Linked DNA regions of Homo sapiens: region 1 is linked to region 2. The links are contacts of gene promoters, found by promoter capture Hi-C in human tissues and cell types (Jung and others, 2019). All regions are on one chromosome and are shown on one strand. Each heading gives the region's core, a stretch centred on a gene start or on the middle of the fragment in contact. The rest is flanking DNA. Distances are from core to core; before and after follow the strand shown.

The links. Contacts are between HindIII fragments. The study calls those that stand out against the background at their distance.
Region 1: the fragment with the promoter of TNS4 here is called in contact with the fragment with the promoter of CCR7 in region 2 in 1 of the 25 tissues and cell types used here (heart right ventricle).

The regions. Positions count from the first base shown.
Region 1 is chr17:40,499,470-40,505,260 of GRCh38, reverse strand. It overlaps TNS4 (tensin 4), which reads left to right and starts at 3,638. Exons shown (of 13, transcript NM_032865.6): 1 at 3,638-3,727. RefSeq lists an enhancer at 5,225-5,791. The HindIII fragment of the contact is 10,438 bases long and covers 1-5,791 here.
Region 2 is chr17:40,562,340-40,568,043 of GRCh38, reverse strand. CCR7 (C-C motif chemokine receptor 7) reads left to right here and starts at 2,572. Exons shown (of 3, transcript NM_001838.4): 1 at 2,572-2,644. The coding sequence starts at 2,635. RefSeq lists an enhancer at 3,017-3,933. The HindIII fragment of the contact is 11,021 bases long and covers 1-5,347 here.

The DNA of each region.
Region 1 (5,791 bases), core at 2,389-4,888, 64 kb after region 2:
AAGCATCAGGTTTGTGGTAATTTGTTACGATAGTCTCGAGAAACTAATAAAACACATCTTAAAAAGTAAAAAGAAGCAGAGGAAATTAATTTTAATAATGTTTTTATTTAACCCAGTATCTATAAAACAGCATCATTTCCACACACAATCAATATAAAAAATTACTGAGCAAGCATGGTGGCTCACGCCTGTAATCCCAGCCCTTTGGGAGGCCGAGGTGGGAGTATAGCTTGAAGCCAGGAGTTTGAGACCAGCCTGGGCAACATAATGTTACTGCATTTCTAGAAAAAAAAAAAATTATTCAATTACTATTGAGATATTTCATATAATTTTTCATACTGAGTCTTTAAAATCTGAATTGTATTTTGCACCCACAGCACATCTTTGTTTAGACTAGCCACATTTCAGGCGCTCCGTATCCACACACGACTAACGCTGACAGAAGATGGCTCAGCTCCAGCCTTTTGTAGGCCTCTTGGTTGCACCAGGCTGAGATTTGGGGGCCTTTCTGTCTATGAGTCATACTCCCCCATGAACAGTGTGCTCCTTGCGGGCAGGAGCCTTGTCCCATTCATCTCTATATCCTAACATCTGAATGCAGGGGCACTCAATAAATTGTTGTTTTTTGTTTATTTGTTTGTTTGTTTGTTCTAGATGGAGTCTCACTCTGACACCCAGGCTGGAGTACAGTGGCGTAATCTCAGCTCACTGCAACCTCCACCTCCCAGGTTCAGGAGATTCTCCTGCCTCAGCCTCCCGAGTAGCTGGGATTACAGGTGCCCACCACCATGCCTGGCTAGTTTTTGTGGTTTTAGTAGAGACGGGATTTCACCATGTTGGCCAGGCTGGTCTCAAACTCCTGATCTCAGGCGATCTGCCCACCTCGGCAGTGTGCCCTCCCAAAGTGCTGGGATTACAGGCGTGAGCCACCACACCCAGCCAAATAAATGTATTTTGAATGAATGAGTAATGTGGGTTCTCTACAAGAAAAAAACTCAGTCAGAAATTACATTTCTTAGTTTCTTTTTTTTTTGAGATGGAGTCTTGCTCTGTCACCCAGGCTGGAGTGCAGCGGTGCGATCTCGGCTCACTGCAAGCTCTGCCTCCTGGGTTCACGCCATTCTCCTGCCTCAGCCTCCCGAGTAGCTGGGACTGCAGGCACCCGCCACCACGCCCGGCTCATTTTTTGTATTTTAATAGAGACGGGGTTTCACTGTGTTAGCCAGGATGATCTCGATCTCCTGACCTCGTGATCCACCCACCTCGGCCTCCCAAAGTGCTGGGATTACAGGCGTGAGCCACTGCACCCGGCCATTTCTTGGTTTCTTTAATTGATTTTCCCTCTCCCTTAGTGAGAGACATGCAGAATACATCAAAATATAGGCTGGACTTTTTTTTTTTAATCTACTTGGAATCCCTTCTTTCAGAAGAGTAGATGTAGGACAAGGTGCCCCCGTCAACTAGGGAAATAGTGTATTTTGAGGTTGAAAAGAAATGCTGTGAATAGGCTTATATCTAGCAAAGAATTGAATTAATAATTAATAACCTTCCAAAACAGAAAGCACCAGGACCAGACAGTTTTACTGGTGAAATCTACCAAACATTTGAGGAAGAAATAGGACCACTTCTCTACAACCTCTTTCAGAAGATAGAAGCAGAAGGAACACTTCCCAACTCATTTTATGAGGCCAGCATTGCTGAAACCAGAGATACAAAAGAAAACTAGACACCAATATCACTCATGAACATAGATGCAAAAATCCTCCACAAAATGTTAGCAAATTGAACCCAACAATGTATTAGAAGAATTATACAGACCCAGGCATAGTGGTACATGTCTGTAATCCCAGCTACTCCAAAGTCTGAAGTGGGAAGATCACTTGAGTCCGGGAGGTTGAGACCAGCCTGGGCAACATAGCAAGACCCCATCACAAAAAAAAAAAGAATTATATACCATGACCAGGGGGTTCATCCCAGGTATGCAAGGAGGGTTCAAAATTCAAAAGTAAATTAATGTAATCTATCACATCCATAGGCTAAAGAAAAAATGTCATATCTATAGATGTATAAAGAAATGCCACTCCATCCATCCCTTGATGATCACGGCAAAGGGCAGTGATGTGGTGTTGGGCAGGGTTTGTGAGGCAGCTGGGGCTGAAATCACTGTTCTGAGACCATCTTAAGCTAAAGGAAGCAGCTGGGTGTGAAACAAAAGAGCCAATCTGCCAAGAAAGACCATAACCCCCAGGTATGGGTCTGTAAGGCTGGAGGACCCCCTGGCCCTGAAGAACCACTGCAGAGGCTATCCATACCAGCCCCAGGGGAGATGGCCAGGGTTACCCCGGAGTTGCCACAGTCTCTGCCCAACACTTCGCCCTACTGTAACCTGCCCCTTCCACTCAAGAAACTCACGAGTCGCCCCTCCCACTCTCCCACAATCATGAGCCACAGCCTCATGGGGGAAGCCGCCATGTGCAGTGACATCCACTCCAGGGCAGGAGCACCACATTTTTCATCCAAAGACATAATTGCTCATCAAGCCATGTGCCAACAAGGCTGCATGGACACCTAGGGACACCTTTTATGTCACCATCAGGAAGGGGCACCTTATATAACTTTCCATAGCTTTGCTCACCGGCCTCCCATGCACTAGTTCACCATGCCTCAGTGAAACCCCAGGGCATCAAAAACTGTAAGGCCAGAAGCCCTTCCACTGGGCATAATGGGGGCATGGGGCAACCCACCCCTGAGATTAGCCTACTGGGATCACCATGAGTCCCTGGGCTGGAGACTTCGCCAGCTCCCTCACTTCAGACCGCTCCCAGACCAGGCTCTGCCATCAGCACCCTCCCCTCACCATGTCTGAACACCTCCTTACAACATTCTAGGACCCCTGCCCCTCTAGAACAGGGAGAGAGTTGGAACCATGGAGAAGGAGCTACCAGACCAGACTTCTGGGCTTCCTGATCTCACCCTCCAATGTCCTCCCCTCAGGGAACTTCCACCCTGGGGCACAGACCAGACGAGGGACAGAGATAGCCCATGAGTGAAGGAACAGCTATAAGCCCCTTCTCAAAGCCCTCCAGACACTTCAGCCTCCTTTCCTTGAGTTAGAGGCCCCATCCCAAGCTAGAGTCATTACTGTAAAAGGAGAGAAAGAAGAAAAGACAAGCTCGTGCCTAGCCTTACTTCCAGTGGGCCCTTACCCTGTGCCTGTCCCAGTGTGACCCAGCACAAAGGGGGACTGCAGAGGGTCTCCTGCCCACTGGCATCCTGCTTTGTCAAGGCCCTCACTCTCTGCCAGCTCTGCCAACCCATGGCCTCTGCCCCAGCCAGCACCTGAGGAGTGCCCACTGCACACCTTGATTCTAGCTATGCCCTGTCCAAGCAAGGACTCCCTGGCCATGTGGTGCCACGAGAAGCCCAAGCAGGAACTTGGGAGCCCCTCACACACACCCAGACCCAAAACCCACCACCCAGTGCTTCCCTTCCTGCTGCCTGTGCCAGCCCCACCTGAGCTCACTGGATCCAGCAGGGGTGGGGCCTACTGCTGTCAGGGCCACGTGCAGGGCCCGCCCGGAGGGGAGGAGAGAAGGCGGGCAAGCTGCTTTTAAGGCAGGTCTGGAGGTGAACTGGCGCCTCTCCTGACTCTTCACCTGGACTCTGAGTCGTCTTGGTCCCAGGAGCCAGTAGTGAAGGCAACAGTCTGCCCACCTGTGGACACCAGGTAGGTGCCTTTATTCTTTAAGAAGAGAGGAACACGGAGCACCTTTGCTGGCCCTGATTCATTTAAACATTTTTTTTTTTTTTTTTGAGATGGAGTCTTGCTCTGTCACCCAAGCTGGAGTGCAGTGGCGCGATCTCGGCTCACTGCCAACGTCTGCCTCCAGGGTTCAAGCGATTCTCCTGCCTCAGCCTCCCAAGTAACAGGGATTACAGATGTTTGCCACCATGCCCGGCTAATTTTCTTATGTTTAGTAGAGACGCGGTTTCACCATGTTGGCCAGGCTGGTCTCAAACTCCTGACCTCAGGTGATCCTCCCACCTTAGCCTCCCAAAGTGCTGGAATTACAGGCGTGAGCCCAGCCTCATTTAACCTTTTGTCTTCAGCTTCTCCATTTCTCAGGGCTCAGAGTGAAGGTGGGGAGAAATGGGGTGGAGGATGTGGATGAGACAGAGATGGTCTCAGGATCACAGACCGCGGAGTTCAGCAGTTCAAGGGAACTAAACCTGTGCCCCTCGGCAAATAGATGAGAGAGCTGAGGGCCACAGAGAAGAGGCTTGCCTGAGGTCATGGAAAGGGACTGGACACAGAACCCAGGCCTCTCGCCTCCCAGCGCTCTGGGAGCCCTCTGGGCACTTCAGAGGTAGACAGGACTGGGAGATGGGGCGGCTGGCCTTCACTGGTCCTATGGGTCCCTGCCTGAGGTCCACGTCCTGCGTCACCGGGTCTGGGTGGGAGGGATGGGAAGATCGGGAGCCAGTTTTCAAAAATAGGGGGTGCAGTGGAGATTGGGCTAATGAGGCAAAGTGCTTTGGGGGAGACTCAGGCTTTACCCTTGCCCCACCCTCTCCCTTCACTGACCTGGGCTCATTGGGAGAGAGTAAGTCAGGAGAAGAGGTTGGCAATGACACGGAAGAGGGGATTTGCCAAGGCACCAGGACTCCCCAGAGTCCTTGGGAACAAAGAAAGAGATCTGAGTCAGAATCAGAAGTGGGAGCGGGTAGGGGGCACCTACAAATAGAGCAGAGGTGGCTGGAGCCCTCCTTGCCCCCGCCCCGTGCCTCCCAACCACACAGAGCCCCGGGCCCAGGGACTCTCCCCACCACTTACAGCAAGAAAGAGCAAGTTAGAGGAGTGTGCGGGGCCGCGAAGGGGGCAGCATTCAGGAATACAGGAGTAAGATGGAGCCCTGCCTTGGTACATCCAAGGGCGACGCAGAGCCTTAAAAGTGAGGGGAGGCTGAAGAGGAGCGTAGGGGCTGCCTGCCCTTTGCTCAGCTCCAGGTCTGTCCCTCTTGGTTCCAGAATCCCAGAAGGGGCAGCGGTGGACAGGGTTCTTAAATATGTGAAGCAGCAGCAGAGGCTAAAAGTGTGGGACCGTGGAGCAAGACCACCTGGGTTTAAACCCCAATTCACAGTTGGGGTTGTATGACCTTGGGCAAATTCCTCAACCTCTCCAGCCCTGCAGCAATAGCACCCTCCTCAGAGAGCTGTTGAGAAAATGCAAGGTGTTCAGTGTCTGTTATTATCACATCCCCATCACACAGATGGGACAACTGAGGTCTGCCCAGAGAGGAAAGGACGCTTGCCCAGCGTGGCACAAAAGCTGTGTCCAAATTAGTAAGCAGGTATACTGGGTCCTGGTTGCGAGGGGACACCCAGCCCTCCTTGAGCTCTGCAAAGTCAGCAGCCCCAGCCTCCTCTGCAGGACACAGCCAGAAAACCCTGCAGGGAGCGCCCAGATCCTGTCCCAACAAACCCAGTCCACTTGGAGCCTGTGTGGAAAAAGCCGTGGTTCCGGCTCTGTGTCCTCAGCTGTCCCGGGAGGGCGGGAGCGCAGAGGCCGGCTCCCTTCCACTTCCATTTATAGAAAGCTTCCCGTGCCCGGGATGCCCCGCCCCCTGCAGGACCTGGCCAAGGAAAAGTCTGGCATCAGACCTACCGGAGCCACGGGCGTTGGGGGAGGCAGGAGAGGGGAAGGGGCCCTGGCTTTTCTCATGAAACCTGTGCGACCTTCAGCCAATCATGCCCCCTCTCTAGATCCCAGGTGTCCCTCTGCACTTGAATT
Region 2 (5,704 bases), core at 1,323-3,822:
TTAAGGAAGACCTAAATAAATGAAAAAAATCCCATGTTCATGGACCAAAAGACTTTGTTAGAATGGCAATACTCCCTAAATTGATTTACAGATTCAATGAAATTCCTATTAGAATCCCAGCTGGTTTCATTGCAGAAATTGATAACCTAAAATTCATATGGAAAAGAGAGAGATGCAGATTAGTCAAACAATGTTTAAAAAGACAGATAAAGTTGGAGCAGTCACAACTCCCAATTTCAAAATTTGCTATAAAGCTACAGTAATCGAGACAGTGTGGTACTGTCATAGGACAGACACAGAGATTGATAAAATAGAATTGATAGTCTAGAAATAAACCATTACATTTATGATGAATTGATTTCCAACAGAGGTGCTAAGACAGTTCAATGGTGGAAAAAATAGTCTTTTCAACAAATGATGCTGGGAAAACTAGATATCCATATAAAAAATGAAGCTGGATCCCTACCTCACACCATATGCAACAATTAGCTCAAAATGGATCAGATCTAAATGTTGCAGCTAAAACTATAAAAGTCTTAAAAGAACATATACGAATAAATCTTTGTATACTTGAATTATGCAATGGTTTCTTAGATATGGCACCAAAGACACAATTGACAAAAGAAAAATAAATCAATTGAACCTCCACATTTAAAACTTTGCGCTTCTTTTGCCAGAGATTCAGGTTTTAAAAAACAAAAAGCCTTTGTGCTTCAAAGGACGCTATCAAGAAAGTGAAAAGATGATCCATAGTAAGGGAGAAAATATTTACAGATATGTATCAGATAAGGGATTGTAACCAGAATATATAAAGAAGTCTTACAACTCAATAATAAAAAATAAATAACCCAATTTTTTAAATGGGCAAAGGATTTGAATAGAAATTTCTCAAAAAATAATACAAATGGTCAATAAGAGCATGAAAAGATGCTCAGCATAGGTAGTCATTAGGAAAACGCATATCAAAACTACAAAGAGGCCGGGCATGGTGGCTCATGCCTGCAATCCCAGCACTTTGGGAGGCCGAGGCTGGCAGATCACCTTAGGTTAGGAGTTTGAGACCAGCTTGGCCAACATGGTGAAACCCCGTTTCTACTAAAAATACAAAAATTAGCCAGGCATGGTGGCACGTGCCTGTAGTCCCAGCTACTTGGGAGGCTGAGGCAGGAGAATCACTTGAACCCAGGAGGTGGAGACTGCAGTAAGCCAAGATCGTGCCACTGCACTCCAGCCTGTGCAACAGAGTAAGACTCCATCTCCAAAAAAAAAAAAGAAAAAAGAAAAAAAACACAATGAGATACCACTTTACAGCCACTAGGATGGCTAGAATCAAAAGAATGGACAATAGTAAGTTTTGTTGACAATGTGGAACCCTCACGCATTGTTGATGGGAACAAAATGGTGTAGTCACTTTGGAAAACAGTTTGATAGTTCGTCAAAATGTTAAATATATAATTACCATATGACTCAACAATTTCACTTCTAGGTATATACCCAAGAGAAATAAAGCATATGTCCACACAAACACTTGCACATAAATATTTATAGCAGCATCATTCATAATAGCTAAAAGGGAAAACAGCCCAAACATCCAACTGATGACAGACAAACAAAATGTGGCATATCCATACAATGGAATGTTATTCAGCCATAAAAAGGAATGGGGAATGGATCCATACCACCACATAGGTAACCTTGAAAACACTAACTGAAAGAAGCCAGATGTGAAGGTCACATATTGATACTTCTATTTATGTGAAATGTTCAGAATAGGAAAATCTATAGAGCCAGAAAGTAGATTTGTGGTTGCCAGGGGCTTTCGATGACAGGAGGGGAGGGGAGCAGTCATTGCTAGTGATTACAGGGTTCTTGAGAGGGAGTGAGAAAAAATGTTCTAAAATGTATTGTGGTGATGGTTGCATAACTCTGTGAACATACAAAAACCATTGAATTCTATACTTTAAAAAGGTAAATTTTATGGGATGTGGATTATAGCTCAATAAAGCTGTCATTAAGAAAGGAAAAGGAAGGGAGGGGAGAAGAGGGAAAGGGGAGGGAGGGGAGGGGAGGGGAAGGGGGGAGAAAAAAGATACATCGTGGCATATCTCTTCCCTTTTACCTGTCATTATGTGTCAGTGCCTCCCATTGGCCTAAACTACCCAGAAGCCAGAGGGAAAGCCATTTGGGACTATATTCCACTGTGACACTGAGCAGAGCAAGGGAAGGATGGGGACACTTCTCTCACACATCTCTGACTCCCCAACATCTAACCCATGGCCTGGCATGTGATATTCATGCTATAAATATTTGTTGAATCAGTAAATGGCCCCTCATCTAGATTCTGCCAGGCAGCGCAGGGGGCTTTTTGAATGTAAATGACCTAATGATTCAGGATCCTATGACCAGCGACTGTCACCCTCTGTCACCTTTCTTCTGCCCCTTTATCTCTGAAGGCATTGAAGGGGCCCTGCATGAGTCAGGGAGGGCTGGGGGGAGGAGCAAGGGTGGGAGGGGCAGGGAAGAGGGTGGCTTCTCCGACAACTTAAAAGGGGCTTGAACCACTTCCTCCCCAGACAGGGGTAGTGCGAGGCCGGGCACAGCCTTCCTGTGTGGTTTTACCGCCCAGAGAGCGTCATGGACCTGGGTGAGTGAGCCTCTTCATGTGAGAAGGAACAGTACCAGGGTCTTGGACACCCAGACTGACCCTGTGGAATGGGGGTGGAGGATGCGGGTGGAGCGCATAGGGGTGCTTCCTGGAGAAATCAGTTCTGATTTGGTGGGCATTGGAAGCTACTTCCAGAGAATGCCCCCTGCTGTCCCAGGAGGGGTGCACCTGCCCTTTCAGACCTGGAGAAGGGGTCAGCCTTTGGTGCCAGTGGGGACAAGGGAGGGGCCGAGATCATGTCTTTCTAAAACAGCAGGGACATAAGAGAGTGGCGGGGCTGGGCTTGGTGGTCTGGCAGAACCTGTTCTCATCATGAGGGTGATAGGTTAGGCCCTCTGGGACCTCTGGGGACAGGTTTCAACAGAGAAATTCTCCCTAGAGAGCTTAGGACCTTTTACCCACTCTCTGATTCCCACCTTTCTCCCCTGCCAAATATTCATATACCTGTCCACTTGGGGTCATGAGGAGATGCAAATGAAACGTGACTGGGTTGTGAGAATGGTGCGGTGCATTGCAAATGCAAGCTCTGGTTGCTTTCTCTCTGCTGCACATCCCACCTGCTTTGATCTGGCTTTGCTGTTGCCTCTTGCAAGTTAAGGAACGGGCAGGCAACATGGAATGGGATGGCAAGGGGCACTCAGCTTGGAGAAATCATAGCCAGGCCTTCAGCACAGCCCCTGCCCCTGAGCAAACCTCACGCACTCTGCCCCGGCAGATAACTCTACTCTTTAGAAAGCCCTTTCTCAGGTCTAACCTAGAAGGGGTCAAGGGGAAGCACTGAGGGTGTTCTGAGTGGTTCATCCAGCTCCAGACGCCCCCTTTATAAATCTCAGCTGTGGAGTCAGACCAGGCTGAGGCTAAGAAGACCAGGTTCCTAGATGGCTTGTCTCACCAGCAAACAATGCACCACGGCGGCCTCAAAGCCGCAAAGGGTTGGCTTTAAAAAGTGAAGGTTCCCTGGTGCTGTCCTCACACCCCTCCTCGCCACACCACAGCCTCCTTGATTTCATCTCTTACTTTCCCGCCTGCCCTGAACGCTGGATCTGGACCCAGCAAACAGCTGTGAAAGGGTTAAAGTGGTCACCCCACCCACTGACTGTGAACTCCTGAAAGGCAGGTTCAGGTGCTTTGAGGATGTGAGGAGAAAATGTCTGCGGAATGAATGAATACACCGTATCAAGAACTCCGTAGAGTTTAGTTTTTGAAAATCTCTTCCAAATGCCTCATTTCCCAGCCAATCTACCCTTAAATCCCACTCCCCTGCACCCCCTCCACCACCCCCCATCACAATCCCACAGTACAGACGTCACCCACAGAAGACCCTGCTCCAGCCTTTCATACTGGCCTCCAGGAAGGAAACCAAGCAGTGCCCAGTGGTGTGCTACTGGGCATTTGAAAAGCAGCTCCCCGGGGTGGAGCACTGGTAGCTGACTCCAGGGTGGAGGGAAAGTCCTGAATTTGTAGTGCTTGCCAATTTCCATGGTGTAAATTCTCCCACCCTGGCTGATTGATTTCAAGCCATCTACATGACTGAACAGGGGGTTGGGAAGATGTGCAGAGTGTCTTACCCCAGACTAGGTTTAGGGGTGCTAGACTCCTAGGCTTTGATGCAGGGAGAGAGGGTAATCTCTGGTCCAGGAAGAAGGGATATTCTTGCCACTTCACTCAACTTGAGAGAGCCCCAACGGTCAAACCCGAAATACTGGTAGGAGGGGAAGCCGCTGACAAGCTTTACTCAAAACGGGCTCTCTGGGCCGTTGATGGGGTGGGTGGGCCTTGGAGGATCTGTTGTTCTGCTCTTCATCTGCCCAGCAAGGAGCAAGAGGTGGGTGAGGAGGGAGGGTTTCTGTTACACAAAATGAAAACTCCCAAGCAGGGCTGAGCTGGCCTTTTTCACGGTTTGAATGAGCAGCTCTGAGGCACCCTCCCCACCTTCGAGCAATGAGACCGAAGATCTTTCATAATTCTCAAAAGCAAAGCAAGGAAAAAATGAACCCATGAGAGATGTGTGCCTCACAGCTCGGACATAAATGGTGGCAAAGGGGGATGCTGAAGCTAATTCAGGGCCAGTTTCTTGCCTGCCAGAAACTTGGCTGGGGAGGAGAGGAACGCTGCAGCCTGGGGTCGCTGTTGGAAAAAATCTCTCCTCTTTGCTTCGGACATTCAGGCAACTCTCATTGTTTGAGGGATTCAGGGATGACCAGTCTGGTGGGGAGAGTGACACATATGTCACAAAGCCACTGCAACAGAATAAGATACAGCATTGACCAGGGCAAGGGCAAGACAAGAAGGGAATAGTGAACCTGGGTCAGAGAGGTATTTAAGGTGGGTTTTCAAGGGTGTGTAGGAGTTGTCAAGCCCAACAAGGAGCTGCAATGGGCCCAGGATGTGGCAGGAATGGCAAACTCCATTGCCATCAGAGGCCGACAAGGTAATAGAGGGAATGGGCATAAGGTGCAGGAAGTGGAGGGGAGTAGAGTGACCCAGAGGGTGCATGCCCCACCTAAAGGCATTCAAATCTATTATTTCAAAAACTCCATGCTGACAAGCAGAGTGTCCTGGGGACTAAGGCTGCAGCCGTGTAGATGGTCAGCTGAGACAACAGTAACAGAGACAAGAAAGAAGCAAGCGGAGGGGAGGGTGGAGTAGCTGGCCATGCCAAGGAGGAAGATGAGGAGGAAGGACGCAGGCACAGGAGACCCAATCCTTAAAACGTGGTACGGCATCCCTAAGGAATTTGAACTTTATCCTGAAAACAATGGGGACCCATCAAAGATTTTTATTTTTCAAGTAGGTGAATTAAAGGATGAGATTTGTGTTTTGGAAGGAGTTCTGTGGCAGCAAAGAGGCAGCAAAGCCCGTGTCAGAACAGAGGTGGGGCCGGCTCTTTTGGGGGCCGGGATGTTGGGGGATGGAAGCAGGAAGCACTGGTGGCCAGTGGGGCATGGGGAGCAAAGATTCCCCTCATGCTCCGTGGAGCGTCCTAGATGCAGCAGGCTCATCAGAAACACAGCCTGATGCAGTAGCCAGAGCCCAAAC